Regions from separate parts of the Homo sapiens genome. Here regions 1, 2, 3, 5 and 6 are each linked to region 4. The links are contacts of gene promoters, found by promoter capture Hi-C in human tissues and cell types (Jung and others, 2019). All regions are on one chromosome and are shown on one strand. The core of a region is centred on a gene start or on the middle of the fragment in contact, and the rest is flanking DNA. Distances in the headings are between cores, read along the strand shown. Region 1 overlaps STC2 (stanniocalcin 2). Region 2 has its middle 28 kb from the start of NKX2-5. Region 3 overlaps LOC105377731 (a long non-coding RNA gene). Region 4 holds the start of BOD1 (biorientation of chromosomes in cell division 1). Region 5 has its middle 22 kb from the start of BNIP1. Region 6 overlaps CREBRF (CREB3 regulatory factor).

The links. Contacts are between HindIII fragments. The study calls those that stand out against the background at their distance.
Region 1: a fragment that was not itself captured here is called in contact with the fragment with the promoter of BOD1 in region 4 in 4 of the 25 tissues and cell types used here (IMR-90 fibroblasts, aorta, hippocampus and 1 more).
Region 2: a contact is called between a fragment that was not itself captured here and the fragment with the promoter of BOD1 in region 4, in 2 of the 25 tissues and cell types used here (IMR-90 fibroblasts and liver).
Region 3: a contact is called between a fragment that was not itself captured here and the fragment with the promoter of BOD1 in region 4, in 2 of the 25 tissues and cell types used here (IMR-90 fibroblasts and dorsolateral prefrontal cortex).
Region 5: a fragment that was not itself captured here is called in contact with the fragment with the promoter of BOD1 in region 4 in 1 of the 25 tissues and cell types used here (IMR-90 fibroblasts).
Region 6: a fragment that was not itself captured here is called in contact with the fragment with the promoter of BOD1 in region 4 in 1 of the 25 tissues and cell types used here (ovary).

What each region holds. Positions count from the first base shown.
Region 1 is chr5:173,318,943-173,322,855 of GRCh38, reverse strand. All of the region lies in intron 3 of STC2 (stanniocalcin 2), which reads left to right. Among named protein-coding and RNA genes, the nearest start is that of STC2, 7.5 kb to the left of the region's middle. The HindIII fragment of the contact is 5,604 bases long and covers 1-3,913 here.
Region 2 is chr5:173,261,450-173,265,706 of GRCh38, reverse strand. No RefSeq gene overlaps it. Among named protein-coding and RNA genes, the nearest start is that of NKX2-5, 28 kb to the right of the region's middle. RefSeq lists an enhancer at 1-509. The HindIII fragment of the contact is 6,740 bases long and covers 1-4,257 here.
Region 3 is chr5:173,289,143-173,293,219 of GRCh38, reverse strand. All of the region lies in intron 3 of LOC105377731 (a long non-coding RNA gene), which reads right to left. LOC124901136 (a long non-coding RNA gene) reads left to right here. Exons shown (of 2, transcript XR_007059055.1): 2 at 1-93. It also overlaps the pseudogene RNA5SP200. Among named protein-coding and RNA genes, the nearest start is that of MIR12118, 13 kb to the left of the region's middle. RefSeq lists an enhancer at 502-751. The HindIII fragment of the contact is 4,421 bases long and covers 62-4,077 here.
Region 4 is chr5:173,614,575-173,618,443 of GRCh38, reverse strand. BOD1 (biorientation of chromosomes in cell division 1) reads left to right here and starts at 1,794. Exons shown (of 4, transcript NM_138369.3): 1 at 1,794-2,244. The coding sequence starts at 2,008. RefSeq lists enhancers at 1,518-1,597, 1,618-1,877 and silencers at 1,858-1,927, 1,938-1,987. The HindIII fragment of the contact is 11,068 bases long and covers 1-3,869 here.
Region 5 is chr5:173,164,759-173,168,722 of GRCh38, reverse strand. No RefSeq gene overlaps it. Among named protein-coding and RNA genes, the nearest start is that of BNIP1, 22 kb to the right of the region's middle. The HindIII fragment of the contact is 6,261 bases long and covers 1-3,964 here.
Region 6 is chr5:173,129,318-173,133,172 of GRCh38, reverse strand. The region is part of intron 8 of CREBRF (CREB3 regulatory factor); the gene reads right to left. Among named protein-coding and RNA genes, the nearest start is that of BNIP1, 13 kb to the left of the region's middle. The HindIII fragment of the contact is 4,974 bases long and covers 1-3,855 here.

The DNA of each region.
Region 1 (3,913 bases), core at 211-2,710, 300 kb after region 4:
TAACATTTGTTGAATATTTACTAAGCGCCAGGCACTGGGCTAAGGGCTCCTTGTGAATTTTTCACTTGATCCTCACCACAGCCCTCGTCACCTCCATTTGACAGATGAGAAAACTGAGACTCACTAAGGCAGAGCTCACACAGCTAGTGACAGGCAAAGCCAGACTTGGGACCTGGCTCCAGTCTGCTGAGCAGTCTGCCTCCAGAACCTATACTCTTAAATCCCGAAAACAGAGCTATAGATGCTTTTCCTGCCTCCTTAACTTTCCTTTCCCTTAGAAGGTTCGGTTTACCTTCTCTCATACATTAGTGCCCTCTCAGAGGAAATGCAAAACAAGTGCCAAAAACTTTAATCAGCTAAACACTTCTATGCCAAAACAAGGAAATGTGAACTTACTTATTTCAAGACTTGAAATTCAATGATAAATTCAGGATGCATCATTTCTTACAAAATATTTCAGCCACAGGATCCTAAATTTTGCAGCATGGTAAAGCATGTTGGTACACAATTGTTCCTAACATGAGGCAGGGCCAGGAGCCCCTGAAGATTTTTTTTTTAAATATTGACAATGGCTCTTTCCTAAGAGACACAGGGCAGAAAGAAAGCCACTAGCCAACCAGTTCAGTACAAGTCATTACCAGTTTGATGGCACTGTTGGTCTCTCCACGGTGACTCATTGAGCCAAATCGGTATAATTTTATGAACTCTTGATCCTCAGTTTGTGCCACAACCTTCTTCCAGTTATGTCCCTACCACACCAACACCACTTAGATGACAGAGAACAGCAAGCACCTCCTGTCTCTTTCCACTTGGTTATAAGGTCATAGGCATCTTGCAACACCCTTGCTACAGTGTTAGAATCATACAATTCATGGCGAAACTCTGCAGGAAGCTCTTGCCAAAAGCAAAACAATATTGCATTTTCCTCGAATTAGGCTAACGCCTTACAAAATATTTTTTATTCTTCAAATATTTTTAAGGGAACAATAGCAGCCACAGCATCATCAACAACAATGATAGCTGTCTTTTTTTATGTTTTTTTAATTTTTTTTCTAATGGTCTAGGCCCTTGGCCAGGGCCTTTACATGGGTTATCTCATTTATCTTTCCCAAAGATGCTACAAGATAGAAATTACTATGCCCAAGAGGAGGAAAGTGAAGCTAAGAGATTAGAGAACTCGGACTGAGGTTTGATTCCTGCTTTTAAGCTTCGGAATTGCTGGTATACATGACTGAAGCCAGTCATCAGGAATAGACTTCAAACCTGCTCCCAGCCTATTATCTCCCTCCTAGACCTGAAAGGGCTCACAGCTCCCCACATGTGGTGGGCTTCTTGTCCTTTTATCAAATATATCCCCATTACACAAGGAGAACACTCTAAAATTCCCTTCCTTCAGGTGCCTCTGGAAGAGAAAAATGCCCCATGGCTAGGAAACACCGTGAGCTTCACTCGCCTCTAGCCCTGTCCCCCATTAGAGAGAGTTTGCTGGCCTCAGGAATCGGTGGGGAATGGGGCCCATTCCTAGTTTATAAGGCTATAATGCATGCCTGGAGCACAGGAATTCTATCTTTCTTGGAGAAAAGTATTCTTTGGGAAAACTGAAGGTTGGAAGTCCCACCCCCTCCCCTTAATTTAAGAAGAAGGTAAAGCTCTCTGGCGTTCTAGTGTCTCCTTCTTGGGAATGTGGCCCTCGGGGCCATGGTCTCCTCACACCATTCAGAATGAGCCTATGACCCCCCACCCCAGCCTGCTCTGGAAATGCAGGCAGCCCATATAAGAAGCCTGGTCACATGCTGTTCCTCTTGCTTCCCCCTAAGTCAGCATCTCTAGGCAGGGGTCTCCCCTAACTCCAGCTTCCCAAAAACCCCCATTACCTTTCCTTCTGAAGCCATGATGTGGCGGTGCATCGACTTGTACTTCTAGCTGAACTGCCTGTTTTTTAGGTTTTTTTTTCCCAACCATCTTAACTGATTAAAGTATCCTATCAGTCCCCAAATATCAAGAAGCCCATTTCCAAATGTGTGGCATTGGTCAAAAAAAAAAAAAAAGAGAGAACTGAATTTGCTTTTCACTTTAGAGATGAGGAAATCACAGTCACCCCAGAATCTGCACCACCCCCATTCTTCAACCCAACCCCCATCCACACCAGAACACTCACCCCCAGTTAATGCTGCTCTTTTCAAGCTCTTCCTCTCCGCTCCCCTCACCCCTTCCTGCCCGCCCCACTTTCTGCACAGCATCTGTCTCCCCCTAGCTGCCGCCTGCCTGGTTTTACCCCCACTCGCCATGTCACTGGGTGCTGGCAGGCTCCAGGCACATCCCCCTCCAAGTATTTTTTAAAATCCTTTAGGCTTGCTGACACCCAGTTGAACGAGCTGGACTTTGTCATTAGACACGGGCTGAGCTTGCAGCCTCAGAAGGCACCAGGCCAGCTCGGAACACGGCTTGGATTAACTTGGTTCGGCACACACACCCCTCCCCGCAGTTCACAGCTTCCTCCTGGAGAGAGAGAGGGCCAAGGGCAGAGGACAGCATGGGCTCATCCAGCCTTCTGGGATCCAGATCCGCCCTGGGCTTCTGGGGGCTCATCTGGCAGACAGAACGCCCTGGCCGGGAAGGCGAAAGACAGTCTGCATATTCCCAAGACAGCCCTCCCCTTACTCTGGGGAAAGGAGCTTGAAGACAGCATCCAGTTAGTATCTCAGAAAGACAGACCCTCACCCCTGCAGTGTGCTCACCTAGCCCTGGTGCCGCGGCAGGCACAGTCAGGTGCTAAAATCCTGTTGCTGCTTTAGCAGACACACTCGGTGAACTTGAGCTCCGGAGGCAGTTTCTAGTTTTCAAAAAATAGAAGGAAACAAGCACGCGTGGAGCATTTCCCTCATATTGCCTCCTGCATGCCCACCTGCCCACCTCAGGGCAGTCCAAGGGACAGGGTTAGGTTGTCTTGCGCTGTCAGGGGCCTGCCTTAGGGGGTTTAAAGCCCTTTGCCCAGCGGCCATGCACAGACTTGCTGACTCCAAAGTCATCAAGCAGGCCCTAAACAGCAGCTGGATCTCTCTCAGCCAGAGCATTCCTCCTCTCTGCTCTGCTCTCAGCCAAGCCCTGGGCCCTGAAGCCCAGAAGCTTCCAAGAGCCACCTTCTCCCTGCTTTTCTCAGTTTTTGCATCCATGAGGTGAGGACAGTTCACTCAATTCCAACTTGAGGAATAATTAATAAAAAGGCAGTAAACTACTTCACACATCTCAAAACACAGTCTGCTCTTTCCACATAGCAACAACTGCCAACTTGCAAAGAAAAGGCTCCATGGGCTGTAACGCAGCCTCTCTGGTGGCCCAGACTTAGGGAGGACAAATCAGATTGCTCCTTGTTATGAATGACCTCACATTCCATGGTGACTTCCCTGCTCAAGGTGATGGCCCAAAGCTGCAATGCTTGTGGTCAGATAGATCAGAAACTTTGCCAGCGAGGACTGCCTAGGAATGCTGGTTAGCCATGTGAAACATTCTATACCCCCCTTGGGGGGTTTTAAAGGCCAGTGAGAGGTTAAAATAAAAGCTCAGTGAGTGGCCCATGAGAGCCCATTGCTGGGGACACTCTTTACCAGATGGGCCCATAAATATAAAAAGCAGATGCTCCTGCCTTCTGCACACCTTGTCCACCCCCTGGAGTAAATTATTCCAGTGGTTTTCCTACAGAACAACCCAAGACAACCGGAATGGCCTGAGGAACTGGCTCTGCCCTCCAGAACTAGGCGAGTTCATTGCACAGTGAGCTGTCTCTCAGTCCAGACACAGGGGCCCCTGACCGCCAGCCTTCAACTCCAAATCTAAGGAAGCCCAGACTGAAAGAATAAAGATGCTCAGATGGCCACACCTACTCCCCAGCCTCTGCTACTGAGAAAGGGAATCA
Region 2 (4,257 bases), core at 324-2,823, 350 kb after region 4:
CACACCCCTTGAAGCCCCAGCCAGCAATCTCTTTCCCTCACCCTGTCACAAATGCCATCACGTTGCATCACCGCCTCCCTCACATGCACAGCCCGGGCAGGACACTGGGACCTGTCTTGGCCACACATCCACAGTTCGGCAGGGTCAGCCCTGGTTCTGCGCAGTTCACAAAGGCCAAAACAAGTGTGAGCCCCAGAGGGGCCCCTGCCAGGTGGCAGGCTGAGCTGCCCAGGGAGGTCAAGGTTTGGAGGTTTTCTTTTAACCAAGTCCAGGGATCCTCACTGCTGCACACTGTGGGGTCTGCTCACGGAAAGTTATTAGACACAAAAACTAAAGAAAAAGAACTAACCCGGGGACGCTTCCTGAAATGCAATTATGGGGGAAAAGAAATGAGAAAAAGTACGATAAAAACTCACCTGATCATCCAGATTCAAGATTTGACTTGCAGAATGGTGTACCATTAACCTGCCTGATGTTTAGAAAGCAACAAAAGAGACCACCTGATGCAAATTGCTCTGGGCACCTGCACCCTGGGGCTGGGAGTCAACAAGGGCCCTCCTTCCCACAGGGCTCAGATGCCTTGGGAAATCTAGGGTGTAGGACCTGGGCTTTAGCACCTCACATTTACACTGGGTTCCAGGTTTCCATGTAGCTTATCCCATTTGCTCCTGCAATAATCCAGGAGGCAGGTAAGCCCAGTGTTAACAATCTAATTTGACAAATGAAGAAAGAAAAGCACATGTGACCCAAAGTTTTTTTTTTTTTTTTTTTTTGAGACAGAATCTCGCTCTATCGCCCAGGCTGCAGTGCAGTGGTGCCATCTTGGCTCACTGCAACCTCCGTTTCCTGGGTTCAAGCAGTTCTCCCTGCCTCAGCCTCCCGTGTAGCTGGGATTACAGGCGCCTGCCACCACACCTGGCTAATTTTTGTATTTTTAGTAGAGACAGGGTTTTACCATGTTGGCCAGGCTGGTCTCGAACTCCTGACCTCAAGTGACCCGCCCACCTCGGCCTCCCAAAGTGCTGGGATTACAGGGGTGAGCCACCGTGCCCAACCTCAACCCAAGGTCGTAGAAGTAATTAGTTACCATGCTGAGACTAGAACTAATAAAATCTGGAAGGGTGAACTCCCATTATCAGTAATAGCAAAGTACGTAATTCAGACTGCCCTCCATTCCACTGAGGACAACTGGGAATGCTGCAGAATAAGTAAATCCTAAATCAGACAAATGGGAAAAAAATCACGAAATGTCTTGGAATACATAATGAAGAGGGATATTGTCAAGCCCTCTCTGTTACTTTGCCCAGCACATTTAGAATTGAGGGTTATTAATCGATTCAAAGTAAATAATGAAATTAACCTGCCCTTCATCTCAATAAATGTAAAATAATAAGCCAGGAGTGGTGGCACACACCTGTAGTCCCAGCTACATGGGAGGCTGAGGCACGAGGATCACTTAAGCCTAGGAGTTCAAGGCTGCAGTGCACTAGAAGGGCACCTTTGAATAGTCAGTGCACTCCAGGCAGGGCAACAGAGCAAGACCCTGTCTGTAAAAGAATAAAATAAATGTAAAATAATTTATGATGATGGTGATTCTTAAATGATGATCACTTTGTCTCAGGTGTAAGGATTTGTCACTAAAGCATACAAAAGTAAAATAAACTGAAAGAAAAATCTGTATAGACTGTGAGAATTTTATTGGTCAGATGAAATGAAAAAGATTATCAGCTTATTTTGCTGCTGTTTATAAGCATCTGTTGTACGCTTTTAATAAATTTGATAATTATTCAAAATAAAAAAAAAAACCGAACTGCTTAAAGACACCAGAGAGCTACAAAATAGTGAAGAATAACCAGCCAGGACCCAAAGGAAGGAGGAAGCCGTGCGAAGTGAGTCTGTCCTTTGAGCTACCCTGGGCCTGGCAGCGTGGGCCAATTCTACCATGGCTGGCAGAGAGGCTGGGTGGACTTTCAAGAGCCTCACGGGGCTAAAGGGGCAGGGACGAATGTGAAGCTTACCAAGATTAGAGTTGAGATTCATCTTGAACTGGGATTCTAAAGGGAAGCTCCCTACAAGTAAATGTGACCCAGAAGCAGACAGGCCCTTGCAGAGACCATGGCTCCACTTCAGGTATTCTAAACCCCCGAAATTAGATTTCAGTAAACCTAAATTGTCGGTGCCCCAGGAGCCTAGCAGAGACAAACATAAATCTTCTTAGGAGGAAAATATCATCATCTGAAGCCTATAATTAGTTCTGCAAGCAATTTTTCAAATGCAATGTCCAAAACACAGTAAAAAATAATAAGCAAATAAATAAGACACAAAGAATACAAAGCAGTATTTTTTAAAGAAAGAAAAATTAAATATAGAAAAATCAACTAATAATAAAGAGGCTGGGCATGGTGGCTCATACCCATAATCCCAGCACTTTGGGAGGCAAGAGGATTGCTTGAGCCCAGGAGTTTGAGGCCAACACTAGTCAGAGTTCATACACAGTCATTTCTACAATACACTATTGGTTACCAGGTCAGTCCTACTCACTGTTGGAGGGGAGTAGGAGCTTCAGTTCTCCATGTGGCCTCCTATCCTTCCAGAATATCAGGAATTGAGAATCACCAAGGTCCGTCTTGGAAGCTGGCTACCACAGGTGGCCAGAGTGGAACTGAATTTTTTCTCACACTCCAGTAGATGGAACAAAATAGCAATGCTGAGAGAGGAAGTACAGAAATGGAAATTAGCTGGGCATGGTGGCACTTAGTCCCACCTACTTGGGAGACTGAGGTAGGAGGATCACTTGAACCCAGGAGGTCCAGGCTGCAGTGAGCCATGATTGCACCAATACACTCCAGCCTGGGTGACACAGACCCTGTCTCCAAAAAAAGGAAAGCAGAAGAACAAGACTGCTAAGATAATAAAGTAATAATAACAGTATGATATCATCAGTAGCTATCACTTATCAAATGCTTCTCTGGCAGTGGGCAATGGCCAAGATCTTTCCATACTCTCTCACTGAGGCAACAAATTACACTCCATGGCCCAAATCTAGCCCACCACCTGATTTTGTAAATCAAGTCTTATTAGAACACAGCCATATCCATTTGAATACATACTGTCTATGACTACTTTCACCTACAACAGCAGAGTTGAGTAATCGTGACAGAAACCATAGGATCTGCCAAGCCTGAAATATTTACTGTGTACCCCTCACCAGAAAAAAATTTGCTGATCTGTTGTCCATCTCATTAAAACCTCATAATAAATCCCATGAAGTGAGTGATATTACTTTCCTTATTTGATAGAAGAGGAAACAGAGGATCATATAAGTGAAGTGACTTGCCCAAGATCATGTCTGTCATAAGTAGCAGAGTAAGGTTCATACCCAGGCAGCCTGACTTCAGGATCCGAGTTGCACTGGGCTAGGAATCAGAAAGGCTGGCTTTTCTGAGTAGCTATGTGGCAATTATTTAAGGTCTTGCTCCTCATTTTTCTCTGCCGAGAGGATAGATGTTTAAATGTCTGTTCAGCTATTTCACAGGAAGATCAAATGATAAATATAAAAGTGGAACAAAGAAGCAGCTAGTCTTCTTAATTTGTGATGCTAGGGCAGGAAGAAGAGCTCTGAAAGAAATGGCTAGAGGAGAAGTCGCTCGGTTACCTCTGCACAACCCAAAACTTACTGGCTTAAAGCAACAGTGGTTGATTGTGGCTCATGATTTTGTGAGTTGGCTGGGTGGTTCCTCAGCTGGTTCCCCACGAACTCATTTATTCAGCTGCATTCAACTGGAACAGTGGTTCTCAACCAGGGATGACTGGGGACTCTGTTGGTAGGTGCTGCTGGTACCTGGTGGGTAGAGGCCAGGGATGCTGCAAACCCTACACAGGAGAGCCTCCACAACAAAGAATTATCTGGCCCTAAATGTCAATAGTGCTGAGGTTGAGAAATCTGAGCTGGAAAGTCAACTGGGATGGAAAATTCAAGATGCCCTCACTCGTGAGTCTGGTAGGTGGTGCTGGCAGTTGGCTGGGGGCCTCAGTTCTCTTCCATGTAGTCTCTCATCCTCCAGGAGGCTAGACTAACTTTGCTGCAACATGGTCTCAGGGCAGAATTCCAAATGAGTGAAGGTGGAAGCTGCAAGGCTTCTTGAGATCTGGGCTCTGGAACTCACCCAATGTTGTTGCCATCACATTCTCTTTTTTTTGTTGTTGTTGTTGTTGTTGGTTTGTTTTTGTTTTTGTTTTTGTTTTTTGAGACAGAGC
Region 3 (4,077 bases), core at 1,023-3,522, 330 kb after region 4:
CCACATCACTGTCTTACTATAAGAGTAAAATGAGATAATGTATTTTAAAACATTGGTATAGTGTGAGTATTCAATAAATATTCTTTGAGTGAATTTAGTGCATTGTTTTGTTTTGTTTTTTTGAGATGGAGTCTCACTCTCACCCAGGCTAGAGTGCAATGGCTCGATCTCAGCTCACTGCAACCTCCGCCTCCCAGGTTCAAGCGATTCTCCTGCCTCAGCCTCCCGAGTAGCTGGGATTACAGGCGCCTGCCACCACGCCTGGCTAATTTTTGTATTTTTAGTAGAGACAGGGTTTCACTATGCTGGCCAGGCTGGTCTCGAACTCCTGACCTCAGGTGATTCGCCCGCCTTGGCCTCACAAAGTGCTGGGATCACAGGCATGAGCCACCGCGCCTGGCCGAATTTAGTGTTTTATATACTTTGGATTGATCAGTTTAATGCAAGTGACAGAAATCCAACTCAATCCAGTTAAAAAAAAAAAAAAGGAAAGATAGAATATATTGAGTTATTAAACTGAAAACTAAAAAGATTAGGGTTTCAGGCACAGCTACATCAGTGTGCTCAAATGGTGCCATTAGAAATCTGCTTTCTCTGTCTACAGCCACACCGCCCTGGACATGCCTGGTCTTGCCTGATCTCAGGAGCTAAACAGGGTCAGGCCTGGTTAGTATGAGAAAGGGAGAAATCTGCTTTGTCTGTCTCTTGGTTCTTCTTTCCTCTGTACTGACTCAAATCTCAGGCAGTCTCTTTCAACACAATGGCAAGATGGCCCCCCACCAGGCTGCAGCTGACATCTCAGCTTCTCAGGGCCTTAGTAGGAAGAGAGCTTCTCTTTCCCAATAATTCCAACAAAATTCCTCAATGCTAATCCAAACACTAAGGCAATGCAGCCTGACCATCAGGCCTGGGAAGTCACTAGCACTCCTGCAGGAAAGGGGGTCAGGACCTGCCCTGCCCAAACCACATGATTACTTGGGGTGTTTTCCCAAAGGAAACTGGAGATGTCCTCAAAGTGCACATTAATCAAATTCAGCACAAAGCCTGTCATAAACGCAGGGTTACACTGCCCTTAAGATTAAAATGCTGATGATTAGCTTAAATACCTGTGGAAAGAGCCACAGGGCAGTGGGAGTCCAAAACGCGGATTCCACTCACAGCTATATCACTGTGTGACCTTGAATAAGCAGCGTGGCCTACCCAGGTCTCAGTTTCTCCATCTGTCCAATCAGGGGTTGGACTAGAATCCGGGCTCACATCCCTCCAGGGCTATGCAGTTAGGAAATGAGCGCAGTGGCCAGGTCAGCACAGCAGGAAGTGGCGGGGCCCTAGGAGACCTGTGAGTGCAAGTCCCATTTAGCATTGTGATGCCAGCTGTGTGCTACGAGGTCCTCTGATTTTTCAAGGCATTCTATGAAATCTCCTGATTTTTCAGTGTTAAAAACTAATTGTGATGGTTGCACAACTCTGAATTGCACCCTTGACTTGTACATTTCAATAGGTGAATTGTGTGGGCGGCAAATTATATTTCAATAAGGCTGACAGAAATGAATTCAAAAGCTTTTTATCATTTTTCAGCCTTTGAGAAAGGATGCTATGATACAGGAGAATCTTGCAAACCTTATGGGAAGTGAAAGAAGCCAATCACAAAAGGCCACAGTTTGCATGATTCCATTTAGATGGACTATCCAGAAAGGGCAAAAAGCAGATTGGCAGTGGCCAGGGTCTGGGAGGAAAGGACACGGGGAGTAAGTGCTTAAGGGGGACAGAGGTTTTTTCTGGGGTGATAAAAATGTTTTGAGACTAGGTAGTGGTGATAGTCATAAAACATTGTGAAATGTGTTAAATGTCACTGAATTGTACCCTTTAAAGTGGTTAATTTTATGTAATGTGAGTTTTCCCTCAATTTAAAAAACAAAAAAGTTTGCTAAATATTCTGCTAGCCAAATAAAACATATCTGCAGGCTGAATTGGGCCCCGTTTTTAATCACAGCCACACAGTCGCTAAGGTCCCTTTTAACATTTTCTCAGGTCATATTTCCAAAGATCAAAAACGTCACCTCCAGTCGGGGGCATGGTGACCAGCTGACCACAGCTTACAACAAAGAGGAAACAGGCATTCTCTTTCCTCTAAGTAGAGCCTCCCCCAAAATAATTTTAGGCCAGAAAATAAAAGCCTGCTTAAGCTGGAACCACGCCAGCCTTTTTCTTTCTTTCTTTCTTTTTTTTTCCTAACTGCCCTTTGCCACCATGAAGGGCAAAGAGTCGCATCTGGGTGACAGTGAGTGGACTTTGTTGACACAGCCCAACTTCAATTTTTGTGAAGTTAATAATTAGGCTGTCATCCCTCTGCTCCAGAGCAATTAGGGGCCTGCGGAGGCAATGAATGGGCTCTATTATCAAGGGAAATTATAAATAGAAAAAAGCCGGACTAGACGGGAGTTCTGCACAGCATCACTGCCCTGCCCTCTCTGTGCAGAGCTGCAGCGAGCCTGAGTGTGTTGACTCGCCTCCGGTTGACAGCTCAGATCCCAGCTGCCATCCAAAAGGGCTCTAAATTCTGCCTCTGTCATCCGAGCCTGACTTTTTATGCTGTCCAGAGCCTGGCTGAGCAGTCCAGCAGAGCAGCAGGAGAGCCCGGGTGAGATAAACGCCTTTGTTTAAGTTGCCTCCCGACTCCAGGGTCTGGAGGTGTCTGGTGCTGAGCAGGAGGAACTGGACTCAGCCTGACAGGCCAGGGTGTTGGGGACGCTGAGTGACACCCTGCTCAGTGGCTCCCTAGGTCAGGGCAGGTTCCCAGCCAGGGGTGGCAGCCCCCAAAAGTGTGGCCATGGTAGAAAGCAGCCCAGGTTCTCAGAGGAATCGTCTCCACTTGCCTTGCTTCATCCAACATCTCCAACGGGTTCATACCTAACCCTCCCTGCAAACTCTATCTGTCTGATCACAGGGAAACAAAGATTCGTAGTTCTAGAAGAAAAAGAAATCTGTCACTGTAAAGGGAGAGCAACAGTCCAAAAATGAAAACACCCACAACTAGAAAACAATGATAATAAGGCTGGGTGTGGTGGCTCACACCTATAGTCCCAGCAGTTTGGGAGGCCGAAGCAGGAGGATCACTTGAGCCCAGGAGTTCAAGACCAGCCTGGGAAATATGGCAAGACCCTGTCTCTACAAATAATTTTAAGATTAGCCAGGAGTGGTGGTGAACATCTGTGGTCCCAGCTAGTTGGGAGACTGAGGCAGGAGGATTGTTTGAGCCTGGGCAGTTGAGGCTACAGTGAGCCTGGGGAAGTTGAAGCTACAGTGATCCAACCACTGCACCCCAGCGTTGGTGACAGAGCAAGACCTGTCAAGGAAGGAAGGGATGAAAGGAAGGAAGGAAGGAAGGAAGGAAGGAAGGAAGGAAGGAAGGAAGGAAGGAAGGAAGGAAGGAAGGGAAGGAGAAAGTAAGATAGGGAGGGTGGGAGGGAGGGAGAGAGGGAAGGAGGAAGGGAGGGAAGGGGGGAGGGAGGAAAATTCATTTAAGACTCTTAAAACAACCCTATGAGATATGTGCTATCAGCCCTGAGACCTGTATTACCAGGTTTTCTGATTTTTCAAGGCATTCTATGAGATCTCCTGATTTTTCAATGTTAAAAACTGGTTTAATTAGTCGAAATTAAATGAATGTCCCCATTTCACAGGTTTGTAAACCAAGGCAGTGAACTAACTTGTCCAAGGTCACACAGCCAGTTGGTAAAATTCAAATCCAGGCCTTCTGGCTCCACAATCCATGCTCCTACCTATCATCTCTACAGCTCTTACTTCGCTTGATGGTGACGCAGATCAGGGGTGGGAAACAAGAGGGCGTGGTGGGGACTGCGGTGCCCTGGACACAGCACACTCAGACTAAAGGAAGCAGCTGCTGTAGCCGGCTGGTTGCCTTAACAGGAATGAGGACTCCAATATTTTTAAGAAAAGCTGGACATCTGGATTTAGCATGAAATCTGATTTTTAAATGTTGGTGGCCGGGTGAGGTGGCTCACACCTGTAATCTTAACACTTTGGGAGGCAGAGGCAGGAGGATTGCTTAAGCCC
Region 4 (3,869 bases), core at 545-3,044:
AGGAGAGTAAGATGTGGGGTGCCAAAAATGGAGAAGGGACTAGTCAGAGTGATCAAGGGCTTGCAGAAGAAAGAACCTGGGGCTGAGGCAGCCTGAACTGGGCTTCTCCTGGGGTTAAAGGTGAGTGATCAGTGTAGAGTCAACCAGTAGGAACAGACATTAGGTAATCTCAAGGATGGTGAGCTATTAAGAGAGAATGTTTGTCATTAACTGACCCATTGTGAATGATTGAGCTGGTGTTAGAGGATGAGTATAATCCAACACCTGAATGTTTCTTTTGAGGGTTAATTTAAACTCTCTTGGACAGGTGTGGTGGCTCACACCTGTAATCCCAGCACTTTGGGAGGCTGAGGCGGGTAGATCACTTGAGGTCAGGAATTCAAGACCAGCCTGGCCAACATGGTGAAACCCCCATCTCTACTAAAAATACTAAAATTAGCCAGGTATGGTGGCATGCGCCTGTAATCCCAGCTACTCGGGAGGCTGAGGCAGGAGAATTGCTTGAACCCAGGAGGTGGAGGCTGCAGTGAGCCAAGATTGCACCACTGCACTCCAGCCTGGGCGATAGAGTGAGACTCTGTCTCAAAAAAAAAAAAGAAAAAAAAATTAAACTGTCTTGAGTACTAAATATTGGTGTGGAGAACATCCTGGATCTTTGCCAATTCTGCATCTTCGCAGGAGCCAAGGATATTGCAGAATTTGCTATTTACATCCCCTCTGCTGCTTGTGTAAGATGAGGAAACAACAATAGCAGACATAATTGCTGAGGTTGGGAGGGGGAGCTGAGCTAACAATAGGCAAAAGATGAAGGGAAGAGAGGATAATGGTGGCAGCTATAGGATTCCAATGGTGAATTGTGGCTACTTAAAAAAATCAGGATATAAAGCCTTACCTATTGTGGGATACCAACTAGCTCTCAGGATACCTCAGGCTAAAATGCAAGATTTAGATCCTCAAAACCTGGGTTCAAATCCTACTTTTCTACCTCTAGGTATGTGATTAGGTTAACAAACTTTCTTCTGCCTCCATTTCTACGTCTGTAAATAGCAATAATAGTAGTATGTATCTGCTTTTTTAAATTATCGTGAAGAAGTGCGTGGAAAGTGCATAGCATCACGCCTGACACTTTTCAATTATTCAATATTGGCTTATGATTGACAATATTTAATATTTGGGAGGAAATCCACACACATATAAGACAGACTTAAGGAAAACTTTTATTTTCTTCTTCACACTTTTCCGTTATTTTCCAATTTTCTAAAATGAGTATGCATTGCTATTAAAACCAAAAGGAGGGAAACTCACAAATTTCTGAACAATAGAAGTTTGACTGTTCCACTGTTTCCGGAATTTCCCGGAACATGTTGTTCAAGAAGGACGTGGGAGTGCATGCTGAAGCACAGATTGCTAGGTCTCGACCCGTAAATACTGGATAAAAATCTTTAAGAAATAATTCTGGTAATCTATACTTTTAATCAGCTCCACAGATGACTGTTATAATCGGGCACTGCTGGGACGTGTTGATTGAATGGGAAGTGAGCAGAGAGTGGGCGGGGAAGGCCTGGCGGGGAAGGCCTGGCGGGTTGCAGCGATCACGAGGCCTGCGCCTACAGTTCCCATATTACCCCGCGAAATCGCGACGAGCAAGCACGAACCCTGCCGGGAGTTGTAGTTTCTCTCGGCTAGGCCGCTGCCTATAAAGAACGCCGGAGATGGCCACAGAAAACTTCCCGCCCCACAATGCAAAGGTCAACGTTGACGCCATCTGGGGTGCGCCTGGAATCGAGCAGGCCGTTTCTGCCGCGTCCACCACAACCTCTGCTGTATCAGAGGGGGCCTTCGCCGCCGCCGCCCCCACCACCGCCCCTGCCGCCATCGCCACCTCCGCCGCTGCCGCCTTGGGGCCCTCCTCCTTCACCGCCCCCTTCACCACCTCTACACGTTCTAGGCCTTCTGTCCTGGAGAAGAAGCTATAGTCGTTCTCCCTTGTGGGCCCGGGGCGCAGCCATGGCGGACGGCGGCGGCGGCGGGGGAACTGGCGCGGTGGGCGGCGGCGGAACTAGCCAGGCCTCTGCCGGGGCAGCGACTGGCGCTACTGGGGCCAGCGGGGGCGGTGGCCCCATCAACCCGGCCTCGCTGCCTCCCGGCGACCCGCAGCTCATCGCTCTCATCGTGGAGCAGCTCAAGAGCCGGGGCCTTTTTGACAGCTTCCGCCGGGACTGCCTGGCCGACGTGGACACCAAGGTAGCTGCGGCCGCCTGGGCGTTGGGGAGCGGGGCTGCACGTGAGGCCGCCGGGTGGCAGCTTTGATTTTCGAAAGCCGAGAGCAAAACAAAAGATAGCTTAGAAATCTCAGCGGTGAGGTCTTACACCGCTTGGGGCAGTACGGAGAGCTTTCTGAGCGATGCACACGTGGGTTCCTGCCTGATACATTTACTACTAGTTGTGATTTTACCCAGTCCCTTCTCCGAACTTGGGGTTTCAATGTGGGTTTTAGAGCCTAGACCGTATCATTCCCAAGATGGAACTCCTCTGAGGCCCTTAATAACAAACTTCGAAACCAAGTAGATAAGCAAGCGTGCTTTAGAATTTCCACCTGTTCCGTACTCACCACTGAGAAGCTGGCATTAAACACAATGATTTGAACACACAGTCATCACCATTTTATAGCTGTTTATTCCTTTTCTCTAGCTCATTGTTTTGCAGACTAGTACGGCGTTGAATTAAGATAAATTGTAGAAACAGCACCCTTATTTTGCACTTCATCATTGATAAAAGGAGATTTGGTGCCTAGTTGAGATCCTAATGCCATTGGTCAGTCCCACCAGTAAAACGCTATTTCACTTTACCTACTCGTCAGGGTGGTTTGGATTCAATGAAATAATGGGTGTTAAGTATCAGACATACAGTAGTTGCTGGAATGTTCATTTTCTTCCTTTTCAAAACTTGTCTAGCCACGACTGTGGTTGTAGGTTAGGAGACCCTGTCACTGGACTCCTGCAGGGTAGTGATTTCTCCTACCAGAGCCTGTCATGGAAACATTTTGCTTACCTCACAGCAAGATTGTGAGCTTAGAATTAGACCTTAAGATAGGGAAAAACGTAGTCTGTTTATTCGTTGAACGTTTATTGGCCTCTAGTTGCCAAGCTGTGCGATTACAGGAATAAGTCACTACCCCATCCTCAAAACTTATAGTCTAGGTTAGAAAACTGACATGTAAATAAACCAGGTGGTAAATACGGATGTAGAGAGAGAAAGTGGTATACACTGTTCCTTCTCCAAGATGAAAAGCCCAACTAGAAGTCTGTCCTTGAAACAAAGTAATTTAATACATATACATCCCAGATCTGTATTGACAGAGCTTTCACCTTTCCTAGGACAAGTTCTCCATTCATATTTCTTATATTCCGTTAGGTTTTGTGTGTGATTTTAAAACAAAAGCGACTACAGTAGCCCGCCCCATCCAAGGTTTTGCTTTCTGCGGTTTCATTTACCCAATTGTTGCGGTATGGAAGTACTTGTGTTCAGGTAACCCCTATTTTACTTCATAATGGCCCTCAAAGACATTCATGCGTAGTGTATATAGGGTTCAGTACTACCTGAGGTTTCAGGCACCCACTGGGGATCTTGGAACGTATCCCCTGAGGGGGGAGGGGACTACCCTCTTGAGCGGCTGGTGAGGGAGAGTGGTTGGAACCTTCCCATGTACAGCTCCTTAGCTGTTCCTTCTGAGAATTCCAGGTTGTTTTAGTTCTTGAAGATAGTGTTTTTTCAGGCATATCTTATCTGAGACCTTTGTTGCTTCAGCCCAGTGGTTCTCAAAGCGTGGTGCTTGGATTAACATCAGCATCACCTGAGAACTTGTTAGA
Region 5 (3,964 bases), core at 992-3,491, 450 kb after region 4:
TGTTGGGGACTGAAGGGACATTGGGGTGATAACACCCACCCCTCCCCTCACCCCCAGGCTGAGCCCTTCATTCCTGACAACAGGGCTGAGACTCCTGTCTGCTATCTCTTAGATTAGCCCACAGCTATTTTTATTCTGCTCTTGCTCAGGGAAGAAACACAGCTTGGGCAAACCCTCCAGCAGGGCCCCAGGGAAGACCACCATTAGCCAAGGAAGAACACAGAGCTTGCTTCACTATCTTTTCTCAGCCACCTACATACACTAACACAATGTATGGATGCCTTCTTTTCAGAACAAGGTTGACACGAATCTGTCAAAATAAAGCGAATGCTCATCTCCTGGTTTGGTGGGAAAGAGGTTTCAAAGAGATGGGCTGGATGAAGGGAAAAGAGACCCAAGAAGGAGAAAATAGGAAGCGTGCTAGGGAAGCCAGGAAGCCCGGGAAGGCCCAGGCTGTGGGGTGGGGAGCGATCAGGAACGTGGGGCGGATGAGGAGCACCAGCCACAGGGCGGTGGAGCTGATCAGGGTCTGGAGCTTGCCTGGGAGGCCTGCATTGCACATTTAACTTTTGAATTATGGCTGAGCATCCTGTAGATATGGTCAAAGTGTAGGAACATGGATGACCTTTCCTTTGATACAAAGGGAACAAGATCTGAAGCATTTAAGCCTGAATAGGAGAGGAGTTGCCAGAGAGGTAAGACGGAAGCCAAGAGAGCGTGGCACCACATAGCCGGGGAGCTTTCTGGAAGAACCAGTGCCCAACAGGGCCAAAGATTGTGAGAGGTAAGAAAAGGGTGGGTATGGGCGGGAGATGGGCTCCAGGTTGGCAGCCTGAGGTCACTGAGCCCCTACACTCACCTCTTGCCACGCAGCCTTGCTTGCCCTCCTCAGATGTGCCAGTGTGCCCCTGCCCGGCCTTTGCTCCAGCTGCTCCCTCTGTGCAGAACCCTCTCTCGACTGTCCCCAGGACGCACCTCCCCTGCCTCAAGTCTTTGCTCAAATCCTACCCCAGTGAGACCAACCTTGACCACTCTGCTTAACACTGCAAACCTGCTCCCACCTCTCCATCCAGATCGCCATCAATAAGCTCCACTCTTCCCAAACCACTCATTTCATGTATTAACTGTTTATCATCTGCCCAACATCCCCTACACACCAGAAGGTCCATGACAACAGAGAATCTTTGTTTTGTTCACTGTGTAGCTCTAACACAAGTACCTGGTACATAGTAGGTGCTCAGTAAATACTTCTTGAATGAAAGATCTCTTGATGACTGCTCTATACCTTTAACTCCTTGACTGTCAGCTAATCAAAATGTAACAGATGAGCCGGGCACAACGGCTCATTCCTGTAATCCCAGCACTTTGGGAGGCTGAGGTGGAAGGATTGCTTGAGCCCAGGAGTTTGAGACCAGCCTGGGCAACAAAGTGAGACTTCATCTCTACAAAAAATAAACAAAATTTAGCCAGGCGTGGTGGTGCACACCTGTAGTCCCAGCTACTCAGGAGGCTGAGGTGGGAGGATCGCTTGAGCCTAGGAGGCAGAGGTTGCAGTGAGCCATTGTCGCACCACTGCACTCCAGCCTGGGCAAAAGAGCAAGACCCTGTCTAAAAAAAAAAAAAAAAAAGGTAGCATCTGAGCTTGCATTACTATTTAACAGTGAAAATTATGGCCACTTAGGAAACATATCCAAAAACAAAATATAGGTAAGCTTCATACATTTATGTTTTAAAAAATCTGGCCAGGCGCGGTGGCTCACGCCTGTAATCCCAGCACTTTGGGAGGCCAAGGCAGGCGGGTCACGAGGTCAGGAGTTCAAGACCAGCCTGGCCAAGATGGTGAAACCCAGTCTCTACTAAAAATACAAAAAAAAAATTAGCCGGGCGTGGTGGCAGGTGCCTGTAATCCCAGCTACTCAGGAGGCTGAGGCAGAGAATTGCTTGAACCTGGGAGGCGGAGGTTGCAGCGAGCCAAGATTGCGCCACTGCACTCCAGCCTGAGTGACAGACCGAGACTCCGTCTCAAAAAAAAAAAAATCTGATACCTACATATAAATATATACTGCATATACACACGCAGTACATATATATATATATGCAGTGTGTGTGTGTGTGTGTGTATATATATATATATATATATATATATATATATATATATATATCCATAAGAGCATTTCAAATGGACCGATGAAGATTACCACACCCACTGCAAGAAGGCAGAGCAAATGTGGACACTGCCCTCTCATGGTTGAGCATGGAGAGGGCCGCATTCTGCTTTGGGGAAGGATTAACCCTGGTGGCTGGTGGAGGTTGCAAGATGTTGTTATCAATGACATTTCAAAATGGGTCACATTCAACTCTATTTTCAGGAGGAGGCAAGTAAAAGAGGAATAAAGTGTCAAAGGGAGCAATTTTAGGGCATACAGAGCCCACGCAATTCCATATTGTGAGGAGGATGTTGACAATTAGTGGGAAGCAGTAAAGAAAAATGTTAAGACAAGAAAATCTGAACTTGATAACATCCATCTGCTGCACTTACAGCTGGAATCTGAGTGGGAATTTCCCATCTGTGCTTTATTCTCAGCTTTAATTTGACTATAAATAAGACACATGTGTGCACAATCTGCACCGAGTGTCTTTTGGGGCCAGGAATTGTTTAAGGATGATATACAGCCTACAAAATTATGTGTGTGTGTGTGTGTGTGTGTGTGTGTGTGTACACAGTGTGGATCTATACTTAGATCCACACTTTAACTTGGAATCCACTCATTAAGCTGGTCTGAGATGTGCAGCTAGTTTTTTATAACTTGGTCCCATGATGATCTGCCACTTTATAACTGAGGCCTTAACTCTTGACATCCTCTGCTCAAACACCTCTAACAGAATGCTGGTGCCTGGCCCAGCTTTTCCTGAAGCACCGCTGCTGTCAGCTGCAGGAAACCTCAGTGCCCAGGGCCCAGGGGGTGGCAGCATTTGGAAAGGCCATGGCAGGCCTGGTCTGAAGACAGCTAGCTACACTTGCTGCTTTATATTCTCATTGGATTCTCAAGTTGACTCTATGAGGACCCATATGGATTATCACCTCCATTTTACAGATAGGAAAACTGAGGCTTAGCAACATAAAGTAACTTGCCAATGGTCCTGTGGTCCATTAGCAGTGGAGCCAAATCTCAAAACCAAGTGTTTGAGCCAAGGATCAAAGTCCATGTTCTTCCCACTTTCCCTTCAGCCTCCACACTGCCCTTCCCAGGTCCTCTGGGGCTATAAATAGTGGGGGAGGCTGGGATTTCAAGCTTGAGGTCAGCCAGGCCTGCAGCACAAAAGACACAGCACCTCTAGGACTGGCCTAGCCTGGGCCCTCTCCCTCTGGCCTGGACAGAACTCAGGCTCACACAGTCTCAGCTTCTCACTAGCTTCTCCCTCCTTGGTTATACTTAGCTCTGGACATCAGAGAGAAAGGCATGTGCCAGCCCGAATCACTGCACACCCCCAGGCCTGGCCAGGCTGCTGTGGTAGAGAATGGCATTGCAGCCTTTTCAGATGTTGGTGTGAGCCACTTCCAACAAGGGCTGTTTTCTGTTCTGTTTCTGTTTTTTTGTTTTTTTTTTTTAAATACAGACAGGGTCTTGCTATGTTGTCTAGCTGGTCTTGAACTCCTGGGCTCAAGTGATCATCCTGCCTCAGCCTCCCAAAATGCTGGGATTAGAGGTATCAGCCACCACACCTGGTTGAACAGGGGCTGTTGGACCCTCCTTCCTGATAGTCTGTGAGATTTTATTTCCGTGTCTCCTTCTGTTCCTCCTTGAGGGAGGAACCATGTCTGGTTCACCAATGTATTTGTCATGTTCAGCAGCGTCTATAACACCCTGTGTGTGGCAGCTGTTTAATAGTTCCTTGTTGTTGGGTGGGGACAGAAAGAAAATAACAATGCTAATTCGTTGTTGAATGAATGAATAAATAAATA
Region 6 (3,855 bases), core at 882-3,381, 490 kb after region 4:
ACTGGATACAGTTTAAGTTTCCTTTTCTTCATTTAAAAAAGTGAATGAACGAATAAGAAATGTTGGAAGAGAAGAGGGAGAAAGGTGGGAGCAGCATAAGTATGTAGATTTTCTCATCTTCCTCATCTTCCATAGTAAGACCAAAAGATAAAATCACTAAATCAAATAACAGAGGTATAAGTACATTTTTTTAAGTATTAAGAAAAATAAAAAGGATGGAAATAGAAATATATTTGTCAGCTAGGCACGGTGGCTCAGGCCTGTAATCCTAGCACTTTGGGAGGCTGAGGCAGGCGGATCACCTGAGGTTGGCGGATCACCTGAGGTCGGCAGATCACCTGAGGTCGGAAGTTCAAGACCAGCCTGACCAACATGGAGAAACCCTGTCTCTACTGAAAACACAAAATTACCCAGGTGTGGTGGCACATGTCTATAATCCCAGCTACTCGGGAGGCTGACGCAGGAGAACTGCTTGAACCCGGGGGGTGGAGGTTGGGGCCAGCCAAGATCATGCCACTGCACCCCAGCCTGGGCAACAAGAGTGAAACTCTGCCTCAAAAAAAAAAAAAGGAAAGGAACGGGAGGGGAGGGGGAGGGGGAGGGGGAGGGGGAGGGGGAGGGGGAGGAAAGAGGGAGGGGAGGGGGAGGAAAGAGGGAGGGGAGGGGGAGGAAAGAGGGAGGGGAGGGGGAGGGGAGGGGGAGGGGAGGGGAGGGGAGGGGGGGAGGGGAGGGGAGGGGAGGGGAGGGGAGGGGAGGGGAGGGGAGGGAAAGGAAAAAGAATTTGTCGGCTGGGCGCAGTGGCTCACGCCTGTAATACCAACGCTTTGGGAGGCCAAGGCAGGCAGATCACCTGAGGTCAGGAGTTTGAGACCAGCCTGGCCAACATGGTGAAATCCTGTCTCTACGAAAAATACAAAAAATTAGCTGGGCATGGTGGCGGGTACCTGTAATCCCAGCTACTCAGGAGGCTGAGGCAGGAAAATTGCTTGAACCCAGGAGGCAGAGACTGCAATGAGTCAAGATTGTGCCACCGCACTCCAGCCTGGGCAACAAGAGTGAAACTCCATCTCAAAAAAAAAAAAAAAAAGAAATATATTTGTCATTGCTCATAGGAAGAAGTCAAAAGATATCATAAAAAATACTGGCCGGGCATGGTGGCTCAGGCCTGTCATCTCAGCACTTTAGGAGGCCGAAGTGGGCAGAGCACAGGTCAGGAGTTTGAGACCAGCCTGGCCAACAAGTTGAAACCCTGCCTTTACTAAAAATACAAAAATTAGCTGGGCATGGTGGCAGGCACCTGTAATGCCAGCTACTTAGGAGGCTGAGATAGGAGAACCACTTGAACCTAGGAGGCAGAGGTTGCAGTGAGCTGAGATTGCACTACTGCACTCCAGCCAGGGTGACAGAGCAAGACTCCGTCTCCAAAAACAAACAAAAAAAAGTGTGTGTGTGTGTGTGTGTGTGTGTGTGTGTGTGTATACATATATACAAGCTTAACCATGTGATCAAACTTAGCATGACAAATAATGAGACAATCTGATATTATGTGCCTCTTGACTGATGGAATGAAAAGGTTGTATGATGTATTCTTACCAGAAAATCTAACTGCATTTAGTCATGAGGAAACAGATAAATCCAAATGTTGAGACATTTTACAAGACCTGGATTTTTCATAAAAATAAAATAAGATGGGGAGACTGATGTAGACTAAAGAAAACAAAAGAAGAGATATGACTAAATGCAATGCATGATCCTCGACTGGATCACACACACAAAAAAATGCTATAATGGACATTATTGAGACAACTGGGAAAATGGATTCCATATTAGATATTATATCAATGTTGAAGCACTAGGATGTGACACTGGCGTTGTGGCTAAGAGAATGTCCTTGTTTTCAAGCAATACAGGCTAAAATAGTTAGAGACAAAGAATCATGATTTTTACGAGTTATTTTCAAATATTCCCTGTCCAAAATACACATGTAGATAGAGGTAGAAATAAAGCAAATGTAGCAAAATATTAACAACTGGTGAGGGCTGGGTGGGGTGGCTCATGCCTATAATCCCAGTGCTTTGGGAAGCTGAGGCGGAAGGATCACTTGAGCTTAGCCTGGGCAACACAGCAAGAACCCGTCTCTACAAACATAAAAATAAGTTTGCTGCTGGCCACGTGAGCTGGCTCATGCCCGTAATCCCAGCACTTTGGGTGGCCAAGGTGGGCGGATCACTTGGGGTCAGGAGTTTGAGACCAGCCTGGCCAACATGGTGAAACCCTGTCTCTACTAAAAATGCAAAAACATTAGCCAGGCATGGTGGTGTACGACCAGTGACTTGGGAGTCAGCTGAGGCAGGAGAATCATTTAAATCTGCTAGGCAGAGGTTGCAGTGAGCCAAGATCACGCCACTGCACTCCAGCCTGGGAGACAGAGTGAGACTCCATTTCAAAAATAAAAATAAAAATAAAAATAAAAATAAATAAATTAGCTGGACATGGTGGCGCACATCTGTAGTCCTAGCTACTTGGGAGTTGGTGCTGAAAGATCACTTGAGTCCAGGAGTTGGAGGCTGCAGTGAGCTATGATAGCACCACTGCATTCCAGCCTGGGTGACAGAGCGAGACTGGTTTCTAAAAAAAAAAAAAGCAATGAATTTTAAAGAACAGTGAAAACAACTGGTAAATCCAGTTGAACGAAACATATATGTTCATCGTACAATTCTTTCTCCTTTTCTATAGGATTAAAATCTTAAATGAAAAGTTGACAGACAAAATAAGTATACATTTTATGTTACAGTTAAAAGCCAATCCACAAGGTAAAAACACAAAGCTTTGAAAATTATCAGAGGATACAAACAAAAGTGAAACCATAATGGATCATGTAAAGGCAAAAAAAAGGCCACATAAACAAACTCTAGCAGATCTTTTGATGACAGCACTAAAACCAAACATAGATCAATTTTTTTAAAAATGAGCTAAACTCACCTATTAAAGTACAACCTCCAGAATAAATAACAAAAAAAATCCAAATACATGCTACATAAAAAAATCTAGGCCGAGCGTGGTGGCTCACGCCTGTAATCCCAGCACTCTGGGAGGCCGAGGTGGGTGGATCACAAGGTCAGGAGTTTGAGGCCAGCCTGAACAACATGGTGAAACCCCGTCTCTACTAAAATACAAAAATTAGCCAGGCGTGGTGGCATGTGCCTGTAATCCCAGCTACTCAGGAGGCTGAGGCAGGAGAATCGCTTGAACCTGGGAGGCAGAGGTGCAGTGAACTGAGATCACTCCATTACACTCCAGTCTGGGCGACAGAGCGAGACTCTGTCTCAAAAACAAAAAACAAACAAACAAAAAAATCTAAGAAAAAATTTTCTGATATCTGAATTAAAATTAAGTTACATTTTAATTTAACTAAAATGTTTTGTGTGTGTGTATTTTTTTTTTTTTTTTTTTTGAGATGAGGTCTGTCACTCAGGCTGGAGTACAATGGCACGATCTTGGCTCACTGCAGCCTCCATCTCCTGGGCAAAAGCGATCCTCTCGCCTCAGTCTCCTGAGAAGCTGGGATTACAGGCTCGCATCACCATGCCTGGCTAACTTTTTGTATTTTTTTTCTAGAAATGGGGTCTCCTTATGTTGCCCAAGCTGGCTTCGAACTCTTGGGCTCAAGTGATCCTCCTGCCTTGGTCTCCCAAAATGTTGAGATTATAGCTGTAAGCCACTGCACCTGGCTAAAATGTTTTAAAAAGATGTAACTGGCCGGGCGCGGTGGCTCATGCCTGTAATCCCAGCACTTTGGGAGGCCGAGGCTGGTGGATCACGAGGTCAGGAGATCAAGACCATCCTGGCTGACAC